2 separate regions of the Homo sapiens genome follow, and region 2 is linked to region 1. Evidence: promoter capture Hi-C in 16 types of primary human blood cells and fetal thymus (Javierre and others, 2016). All regions are on one chromosome and are shown on one strand. Each heading gives the region's core, a stretch centred on a gene start or on the middle of the fragment in contact. The rest is flanking DNA. Distances are from core to core; before and after follow the strand shown. Region 1 holds the start of RPE (ribulose-5-phosphate-3-epimerase). Region 2 holds the start of ATIC (5-aminoimidazole-4-carboxamide ribonucleotide formyltransferase/IMP cyclohydrolase).

Region 1 (5,207 bases), core at 1,062-3,561:
AACCAAAGTATCTCCTGGCAAAGGGGAAGAGGAATCAATAAAAAACAAATACTTCATTTTTTATTTTTTTGTTCCCAAAACTCTGATCCATGGTAAATACTTTGCCTTACTGAGCTCAGTCTGCCATAGAGCTGCAAGGGGACAAAAGTGACTTCTGAGAGACTTCTCCTATTATGATTAAGCTATTCATTCATTCGGCCAACAATAACTAAGCACCTTATGGTGCTTTTCCAGCAAAGAATATATAGGTGAGCAAAAAGAAGATAAACTTGGCTTTCAGGAAGCTTATAGGGTAGCAGGAGAGACATGAAATAAGTTAACAAAAATAAGTATACAGTTAACAGAAATAAATACACAAATTATTAGTTGCTTTTTTGAGGCCAAACAATGTCTTAGTCATTCCCTGTAAGCCTAGGAACCACAGAAAGCATTTCATTTGAGACAACACAAGCTGTTGCATTGCTTCCAACCCTGGCTCCACCATTTCCTAGTTATGAGACCACTGGCAGATGACTTAACCTCTCTGTGCCCAATTCCTCGCTGTCAAATGCTGGTGGTAATAACACCACCAATTTCAAACGGTTGTTTGAGTTAATTCACAAAAAAACTCCAGAACAGAAACAGTCAAGTGCTCATAAACATTGCTACTATGGTTATCATTAATAATCCTGACTGGTGAACCGAAACAATTACTTTCCCCAACCATTAACTTACTCAAACATAGTTTAATTAAAACCAAATTGCTCAAATAGACTCACAAATATACACATAGCTGTTCCATCCTGTGACCCTCTAGGTATTTTCTCAGGCACAAAAATGTAGCTACTTACCTTTGAGGTAGACACTCAGGGTATTATTACCTGTGACAGTTTAGGGCTTTCAAGCAAAGATGTCAAAAATAAAGTATATAAGTATAATTACATATAATGGCCAATTAAAAGCCAACCTTTGTGAGAGGTAATATTTACTAAACTTTTTACACATTTGGCCTATTATTTTTAGTACTCTATGGTCAAAGTTTTGTCATTATCAGTTGGGTGGACTCCTAAGGTAACTGGGTAAAATGCCAAAGAGAAACAATACATTTAACCACATAGAGCAATGGAAGATAAAACTCTTCAAAGCCAGATTAACATTAAAAAGAAAAGGAAATCATCACCTTTAGAAAATAACACCAATTTGCAAACTGAATGAGGGAACACAGGGTTTTTACCTATTTAAAATAAATTTATTTTTCCATCCCCACTCAAGATAATGGTATTTATGATTTTTATAGTCAGTTAACAGTGGGGCTCAGAGAACTACTTGGCAAACCTAGGAAGAGCCAAGTTGCAAGTCTGTCACAATCTTCTGTAATCTTGAGGGAGTCTTACTGCTTTCTCTGGGGTTGTTTCCTCATTCTGTAACCAACTTCAGAAACTAATATCCTGACTCCAAACAATATTATGTGCTGTAACTACGGTGCTTAAAAATTACTTACAAAAAACTGACCTCCCTGAAGAGCAGGGTGCCTGAAGAGAAAATAGACAGGAAAATCAGAATTGTAATAATGATGTAATTAACAATTATAGAGAACTTAATATACGCCAGGCACTGTAAACTTCTCATGTACTCGCTCATTTCATCTTCCAAGATGCCTAAGCGGTAGGTTCTGTTAGTAGTTCCATTTTTCAAATTATGAAACTGAAGCTCAATGAGGTTAGTGGCTTGTCCAAGGTAACCCAGCAAGTGGCAGAACTCGGGAACCTAACCGCAGGTGCCAACTTAAATCGTTAGAGAAGTCTGTTTCCCCAGCTTTGCCACTAACTAGCTATATGAGCTTGGGCAAGTCATGCTTCTCCCCTTGGGCCTCAGTTTCTCTAGCTGAAAGTGAAGAAATGTCCTAAAGATTTAGGTCGCTTCCGGGTCCTAAGTGATGGAAGACCACACGTTACGTGGGGGGAGGGGAGGAACTGAGGTTTGGGACCCGGCCGCAACCCAGGATACCGCGTCGGTTCTGCTCCTGCTAGAGCCTCCAGGGCTCCTACCCCACACCCCTTCTAGCATCGCGTTCAGAGTGAGGCGCTCGGTGGTACAGGGACGCGGTACATCCAACAAGCAGTCAATAAAGGTGCACTGATCCGCCCCGCCGCGCGGCAAGCCCGACCGGAGCCCGGAGGAGTTACCCGTCCATTACGTCCAGGTGCAGATAATCGGCCCCAGAGTCTAGCATCCGGAGGCACTCGGCCCCTAAATTGGCCAGGTCGCTGTTGAGGATGGACGGGCCAATCTTGCAGCCCGACGCCATACCGCTGGCTCCCAAAAGCAAGTTACCCACGAGTCCCCGGCAAGGCTAGAGCGTCACCCCGATTGGGCGCGCAGTTTTGGCCCCGCCCCTTCTCCGTACAGGCTTCCGGATTCTACCGGAAGCAGCCACTCTGCGGTGAGGAAGTCCCGCCTCCTCCTGGGGTGGGGCGCTGTCAGCCGTCCGCCTGGGGCGGGGCGGGGCACACGGGCCTCGTACACCTGATTTTGACCTTCCTTCTTGTGCTGTTTGGATCTTAACGTCCTCGCAGTACTCAAGGCGTTTCTTAACCTTTTTTCACTTTGCTTCTCCTGCAGTTCCCTCTCCTCGGCTCTTGACTTAACATCACTTTTTGTTTCTCCACCCTTTGCATATGCCTTTCTTTCCTCTCCAGCGCCTATGCTGGCCCTTTAAAACAACAATTAAAAACCTTTCTTCCTCGTATTTCTCCTAGAGCTCTTCTTTTGAGCTGGAGGAACCCTGGCTCTGCCAGATACTAGCTGGGTGACCTGGCAAATCACTTCTTAACTTCGGTTTTCTCATCTGTAAAGACAGTGCCCAGCTTTAGGGTTGTATTAAATGAGTGAAGCCAGGTAATGCGCCCAGCAGGATGCCTGGTGCTCAGTACAAAATGGTAGTTATTATTATATTACCCTCTTTTTCTGCCTTTGCAGTTCCTCCTTACCTTTTTTGTTTTTCCCTCTGTTGAGGCTCAGAAAATGATAGCCCAAAGTGAAGGCCTCAGACGCAACAGTGTTTCTCTGACTTCCTGCCCTGCTCTCTTCTCAGTCTCATTCTAGGAGGCAGGTCATAGAAACTGGAGCCCATCTTCCCTAAGAAGAGTCATTGAAACCGGAACCCCCTTTCCCTGAAGCCAGACACAAAACCCAAAAGCATTACTCTAACTTTCCTCCACCTTTCTGTGTAAAAACTGGCCATAAATTATTTGACCCATCTCAACTGTAGGTTATAAAACTCCTCTTCTAGAGAAGGTTCTATCCCATATCCAGGAGGAGGGAATGCTGCACAGAGAGGCCAGGAATCTAAACTAGACTGGCCAAGGCCAGGTCAGTCTATTAGCATTAGATCGCCTATTTTGTCCAATCGTATTTCTACATGGCTGTCTATACTTTGTTGAACCTAAGTATAAAAATGGGTAATCACCCCTGTACCTTTGGGTCTTCATTCTGAAGGCTCCTGTGTCAGGTAAAACTATAATCAAATAAGTTTTTATGCCTTTTCTCCTGTTAATCTTCTTTCTGTCAGTGATTTTCAGCAAACCTTTGGAGGGTGAAGGGAAAGTTTTCCCTTGGCCCCTACACCTCTCCAATGCTCATTCACAAATTGTGATAGGTTTGTGTGCTGTTCACACACAGTTCAGAAATGGATGAGTATCCTGATGCTAAATGTGCCTAGGGTCAGGAAAAGAGACAGAAGTAAAACCACTTGGCGGGGATAAATGGACTTAGCAAGAGCAATCCTTAAGGGGTCAGAATAGAGCACTTGTACTCTGTGTAAAAGACGGAAGTGGTAACTTGGACTGAGAGGTGACAGCGTGCTGGCAGCCCTCGCTCACTCTCGGTGCCTTCTTGGCCTTGGCACCCACTCTGGCCGCGCTTGAGGAGCCTTTCAGCCCACCGCTGCACTGTGGGAGTCCGTCTGGGCTGGCCAAGGCCGGAGCTGGCTCCCTCAGCTTGTGGGGAGGTATGCAGGGAGAGGCACAGGCGGGAACTGGGACTGCAAGGCACTTGTGGGCCAGCGCGAGTTCGAGGTGGGCGTGGGCTCTGCGGCCCCGCACTTGGGTGGGCCGGCTGGCCTGCTGGCCCCGGGCAGTGAGGGGCTTAGCACCTGGGCCAGCAGCTGCTGTGCTGGATTTCTTGCCAGGCCTTAGCTGCCTCCCTCTACGGGGCAGGGCTCGGGACCTGCAGCCCACCATGCCTGAGCCTCCCCTCCATGCCGTGGGCTCCTGCGCGCCCAGCGTCCCTGAGGAGCGCCGCCCCCTGCTCCACAGCACCCAGTCCCATCGACCGCCCAAGGGCTGAGGAGTGCCGGCGCACAGTAGGGGACTGGCAGGTAGCTCCACCTGCCGCCCCAGTATGGGATCCACTGGGTGAAGCCAGCTGGGCTCCTGAGTCTGGTGGGGACTTGGAGAATCTTTATGTCTAGCTGAGGGATTGTAAATACACCAATCAGCACTCTGTATCTAGCTCAAGGTTTGTAAACACACCAATCAGCACCCTGTGTCTAGCTCAGGGTTTGTGAATGCACCAATGGGCACTCTGTATCTAGTTAATCTGGCAGGGACTTGGAGAATCTTTATGTCTAGCTAAGGGATTGTGAATGCACCAATTGGCACTCTGTATCTAGCTCAAGGTTTGTAAATGCACCAATCAGCACTCTGTGTCTAGCTCAGGGTTTGTAAATACACCAATGGACACTCTGTATCTAGCTAATCTAGTAGGAGAACTTTTGTGTCTAGCTCAGGGATTGTAAACGCACCAGTCAGCACCCTGTCAAAACGGACCAATCGGCTCTCTGTAAAATGGACCAATCAGCAGGGTGTGGGTGGGGCCAGATAAGAGAAGAAAAGGCTGCCTGAGCCAGCAGTGGCAACCGGCTTGGGTCCCCTTCTGAGCTGTGGTATGTTTGTTCTTTTGCTCTTTGCACTAAATCTTGCTACTGCTCACCTTTGGGTCCACACTGCCTTTATGAGCTATAACATTCACCACAAAGGTTTGCAGCTTCACTCCTGAAGCCAGCGAGACCACGAACCCACTGGGAGGAATGAACAACTCCAGACGCACCGCCTTAAGAGCTGTAACACTCACCGCGAAGGTCTGCAGCTTCACTCCTGAAGCCAGCGAGACCACGAACCCACCAGAAGGAAGAAACTCCAAACACATCTGAACATCAGAAGGAACAA
Region 2 (5,207 bases), core at 1,358-3,857, 5.3 Mb before region 1:
TTAGCCAGGCGTGGTGGCGGGCGCCTGTAATCCTAGCTACTTGGGAGGCTGAGGCAGGAGAATCGTTTGAACCTGGGAGGCAGAGGTTGCAGTGAGCTGAGACAGTGCCATTGCACTCCAGCCTGAGCAACAAGAGTGAAACTCTATCTCAGAGAAAAAAAAAAAAAATCTTGGCCTCTTAACTAGCTGTGTAATCTCGAGCGAGTTACTTAACTACGTTGTGCTTAATTTCCTCACCTATAAAATGAGGATAACACTACCTAAACTAAAAAGTTGTTATAAGGACTATAAGAGTTTATATATGTAAAATACCACTGCAACTGAATAAAATACCACTGCAACTGAATGTGGCCTTTGTTGAAGAAAAAACAATTGCTCCAAGTTGTTTACATTTCATTCAGTGAACTTTACTGTGCTGGGGTCTAAATAAATCACTCATGGTGAACTTCTTATCCTTTCATAGAAGAGAAACACATTTACATTTCCAGTTTTTAAAGAAGATATGACCATAATGAAGATAAGTGAGGAGTGGGTATAGGTACAGAAACAAGACTAATCAGTTGATAAGTACCTAAAGTGGGTGACAGATATAGGACCCAAGGGATCATTATACTTTTCTACTTTTGATTGTGTCTGAAATGTTTCCATAATACAAAGTTTGGTGGGGAAAAAAAAGAGACTACAGATGAGGATTTTGCTTTACGAAGGTTCCATTACCATAGGAGGACCCAACTTGGCCCAATGGAAAGCACGCAGGTCTGGACTTTGAATTCTCATTCGGTTGCTGATGAGCAAAGAGCCAACTTGCCTGCCACGATTCTCACAGGTTTCCCATGAAAACCACAGAGACAAGACGCAAAAAGACATCCGAAAATATACAGTTATGTATTTGTTAATAAAGTAAGGCATTCTTACCATCTGAACTTGTTAAACTTAGGGAAGCTGTGTACTGCTCACATAGCTGGGAACTGCACAAAGAAAAGGTAATAACCTACCTCTACATGGATCTAGAAACCAAGAAGCAAATTTTCCACATGGCAACAAAAAGCAGACAGATATCCTTCATCTCTTTCATTCTAAAATATGTTTCAGGGGTGGTCATCTCGTTCCTCCCAACTCTCACTGCCGTTTATTAAATAGCTATCCTATAGTTTTTTTCATTTTTCTACCTTTCAGTAGACTTCCTCCCTCTCCTCCCAGAATGCCACTCCTTGACATCAGCAATGGCATCCTGGTTAATCATTTCTAAGTCCCTTCTTTCCATGGCCTAGTCAGCTAATGAAGGGCTTGTGAACGTGGGAATGAATGATTTGCACCTTCATATGGTTACCAGAGATTCTAAGGGAAGGCAGGTAAATTGGAATCTTCATGATGTCGAGTTTTATTAAATCACCAGTCAAAGTAACTGAAGTTTTCCTTGCATAACAAGTGGCCCACCTAAGTTAATCTGTTTAAGGAAGGGGCTAAGACTAGTGTCCTAAAATCAGGAACAGCACGGGTTCCAATCCTACTTTTCCCTTACTCAACTGTTTAAACTTGTGCAGAAGATGCTAAATCTGTCCAGTGTGTTGTCCAGGGTCTTTCTCTGTCACCCAGGATGGAGTGCAGTAGTGCCATCTCGGCTCACCACAACCTCCGCCTCCTAGGTTCAAGCGATTCTCCTGCCTCAGCCTTCCCAGTAGCTGGGATTACAGGCGTGTGCCACCATACCGGCTAATTTTTGTATTTTTAGTAGAGACGGGTTTCACCATGTTGGCCAGGCTGGTCTCGAACTCTTGACCGTAAGTGATCAGCCCACCTCGGCCTCCCAAAGTGCTGGGATTACATGCGTGAGCCACCTAGCCCAGCCGTCCAGGGTCTTAAAAGTTGCTAAATCTCTCTGAGCCTCACTTTTTTTCCCCATAAAGTGGGGAAGTATTACACCAACCTCACAGCGCTACTGGGAGGAGTAAATAAGGCGTTTTGCTGCTGGTGCCTGGAATACAATACTTCCTGGTTAATGTGATCACACTCCTTTCTGATGGAACTAGCTATGCCTTACCTGACTGCCAGACCAGCATCCCTGAGAGCTTTTGCAGTCCCTCCGGAAGCGACCAGATTCAAACCAAGAGCGGTCAGGTTTCTTGCAAATTCCACAAGGCCGGTTTTGTCAGAGACACTAAATAAGGCTGAAAGAGAAGACATTTTTTCTCATGATTCGCAGCACATTGCACTGTGTTCTGCAAGGCCTTGGGAGGGTCTGGGGGAGGAGATTCTCGAATCGCAAGGCCAGCACCTGGACCCTGCGTTCGCAGGCCTGGTCCGGGCCTCCCCAGGTCTTACACCCGCGAGCTGCTCTAAGGCGGGCCCCACGCAGGCTGCGGCCCGGCCGGGGAGCGGGGACGCTGGCTTTCAATCCCGCAGCGCCGCCCCTGCAGTGCCGGGTCCCGCCGGCCGCCGCCAAGGCGGGAGCGTGGGGGGCCGCAGGCGAGGACGCAGACCGCGCCGCTCCGCTAGGGCCTCACCGAGCTGGCCGGGAGCCATGGCTGCAGGCACTGGGTTCAGGGCGAGCGGGAGGCAGCAGCGGCGGCACCACGTGCGCAGGTAGGAGGGCTGCCGGGATGTGGCGGCTCAGGAAGCGAGGGGGCGGAGCTGTTTCCGGGCTTATCACGTGGCCCGCCGGCCCTGCCCGGCGCCCTGCTCTGCTCAGTTTCAGATGCAAGATCCGCGCCCCGGGGCTGAAGGGAACGGCGGGATGGGGTGGGGCTCTGCCTGGCGCGCCTGGGCGGAGTGCTTGGGCTGGAAGGGATCCTGCCTGCGATCCCGAAGTCCAGGCGTGGGAGCCAGCGATCTGCCCACGACCCCAAAGTGAGGCCACTCCACGGCCTCTGGGGCAAATGCCTGTTATTCTAGGCAGCCGGTCCCCAGAAGCTGGAAAGTACGTAAAAGTGCCAGAAGCTCCCATGCTGAAAACTAAACAAAAGGAATAGTTCATATAGCGGCAAAGCTGGAAAGTATCTGGACAGTTATCTACCATCCTCCCTTTTTGTTTGTTGTTTTTTTGTTTTTCTGGGTTTTTTTGTTTTTTTTGTTTTTTTTTTTTTTTTTTGAGATGGAGTTTCGCTTTTGTTGCCCAGGCTGGAGTGCAATGGCGCGATCTCGGCTATGTCACGTGCAACCTGCAACCTCCACATCCCGGGTTCAAGAGTTTATCCTGCCTCAGCCTCCCGAGTAGCTGGAATTATAGGCAGGCGCCACGATGCCCGGCTAATTTTTGTATTTTTAGTAGACATGGGGTTTCGCCATGTTGGCCAAGCTGGTCTCAAACTCCTGACCTCAGGTGATCCGCCTGCCTCGGCTTCCCAAAGTGCTGGGATTACAGGGGTGAGCCACCATGCCCAACTTGTTTTTTGTTTGTTTGCTTGCTTGCTTGTTTGCTTGTTTGTTTTGAGACAGGGTCTCGCTCTGTCTCCCAGACTGGAGAGCAGTGGCACCATCTCAGCTCACTGCAACCTCTGCCTCCCAGGTTCAAGAAATTCTCCTGCCTCTGCCTCCACACCCGTCTAATTTTTTGTTGTTGTTGTACTTTTTTTTTTTTTTTTTTGTATATTTAGTAGAGATGGGGTTTCACGGTGTTGGCCAGGCCGGTCTTCAACTCCTGACCTCAAATGATCTGTCCACCTCAGCCTCCCAAAGTGCTGGGATTACAGGTGTGAGCCACCGTGCCCGGCCCCATCCTCCTTTTTAATAGGCTTAAAAAATAAAACCAAGGACCAATGATTTAAGTGAGGGACTCCAGAGGCCACAGATGACAGTCAAAACGAAGTGAAATTGACATTCGTTGTTGATTTTCACGTCATAAAATTATAATTTAAATATTAATTTATAATACTATTTTATACAATTTAGTCAGTATTGTAAAAGTGCCTAAAAACTACTTAAAGATGGTGTCTTCTTGCAAACCTGTAAATATTCCTGGATGAGAGGAATGATGACAGTCAAAAGAAGGTAAGAGAAGACCTTTCTTAATTCATTAAAAACAGGGAAAGCAAAATTGAACACATTTGTTTCTTTCTAAAAATGACACCTTTGCCACAAAATAAATACATATTGTGGTCTATGAGTCTTTTTTGTGTTATTAGAATTATATTCCAAAGTAATAGCATTGTTTATCTTTTAGTCTGAGCTCACAGCTGTAAAAATGAGTCTATTTTCTCATTATCTGCATGCTATTTATTTTTGTTTTTCCTCTTCCTTTCTCTAATTCTTCCCATCTCTTTACTCCCCAAAATAAATACCTATTGACTAGAATCAATTTTTTTTTTTTTTTTTGAGACAGAGTCTCGCTCTGTCACCCACACTCTCGCTCTGTCACCCACACTGGAGTGCAGTAGCGCGATCTCGGCTCACTGCAACCTCTGCCTCCCAGGTTCAAGCGATTCTCCTGCCTCAGCCTCCCGAGTATCTGGCACTACAGGCGCGTGCCACCATGCCTGGCTAATTTTTGTATTTTTAGTAGAGATGGGGTTTCGCCATGTTGGCCACGCTGGTCTCGAACTCCTGACCTCAGGTGATCCACCTGCCTTGGCCTCCCAAAGGGCTGGGATTGCAGGCGTGAGCCACCGCGTCCAGCCTGGAATCAATTTTTTGACCTCTAAATATGTTAGCCCTTTGCTCTGAACACTTCTCACATTCCTACGAGGAATATATTAAGATTATCGCATGTCTTCAGTGTGTTTGCCAAATTTGAATTTAAAAAGGATATTTCCTTGGCCAGTCACCATCAGGTTTTTACAGGAAATCGAAAGCAAGGAAAGGAGAAAACAATGCTGACATTTATTGATAAGGGGAAATAAACAGTTGCTTCGGCATTATGCATTTGTCTGTCATGTGAATTACAAATATTTATTCGATTCAATACATTTTTATTGAGCCTTTTCTGCTTGGATGGCAGAAACTCAGTGTCAGAAGACAGATAAATATCACCTAAGCACTGTCCTCAAGGAGCTCATGATGGAATGAAAATGTAGACACATGAAGTATAACTAAAAAATATTAATAGAGGCCGGGTGCGGTGGCTCACACTTGTAATCCCAGCACTTTGGGAGGTGGAGGCGGGCGGATCACGAGGTCAGGAGATCATGACCATCCTGGCTAACACAGTGAAACCCTGTCTGTACTAAAAATACAAAAAATTAGCCGGGCGTGGTGGTGGGCGCCTGTGGTCC

Evidence for each region. Contacts are between HindIII fragments. The CHiCAGO score rates a contact against its expected background, and 5 or more counts as called.
Region 2: a contact is called between the fragment with the promoter of ATIC here and the fragment with the promoter of RPE in region 1, in 3 of 17 cell types (activated CD4 T cells, naive CD8 T cells and total CD4 T cells). The highest score is 7.2, in activated CD4 T cells.

The regions. Positions count from the first base shown.
Region 1 is chr2:209,999,742-210,004,948 of GRCh38, reverse strand. RPE (ribulose-5-phosphate-3-epimerase) reads right to left here and starts at 2,311. Exons shown (of 6, transcript NM_199229.3): 1 at 2,166-2,311. The coding sequence starts at 2,287. RefSeq lists enhancers at 2,043-2,212, 2,253-2,302. The HindIII fragment of the contact is 5,690 bases long and covers 287-5,207 here.
Region 2 is chr2:215,309,459-215,314,665 of GRCh38, reverse strand. ATIC (5-aminoimidazole-4-carboxamide ribonucleotide formyltransferase/IMP cyclohydrolase) reads right to left here and starts at 2,607. Exons shown (of 16, transcript NM_004044.7): 1 at 2,505-2,607; 2 at 2,042-2,168. The coding sequence starts at 2,523. It overlaps LOC124907975 (a long non-coding RNA gene), which reads left to right and starts at 2,694. Exons shown (of 2, transcript XR_007088075.1): 1 at 2,694-3,987. RefSeq lists silencers at 2,263-2,632, 2,643-2,722 and an enhancer at 2,253-2,903. The HindIII fragment of the contact is 8,450 bases long and covers 1-5,207 here.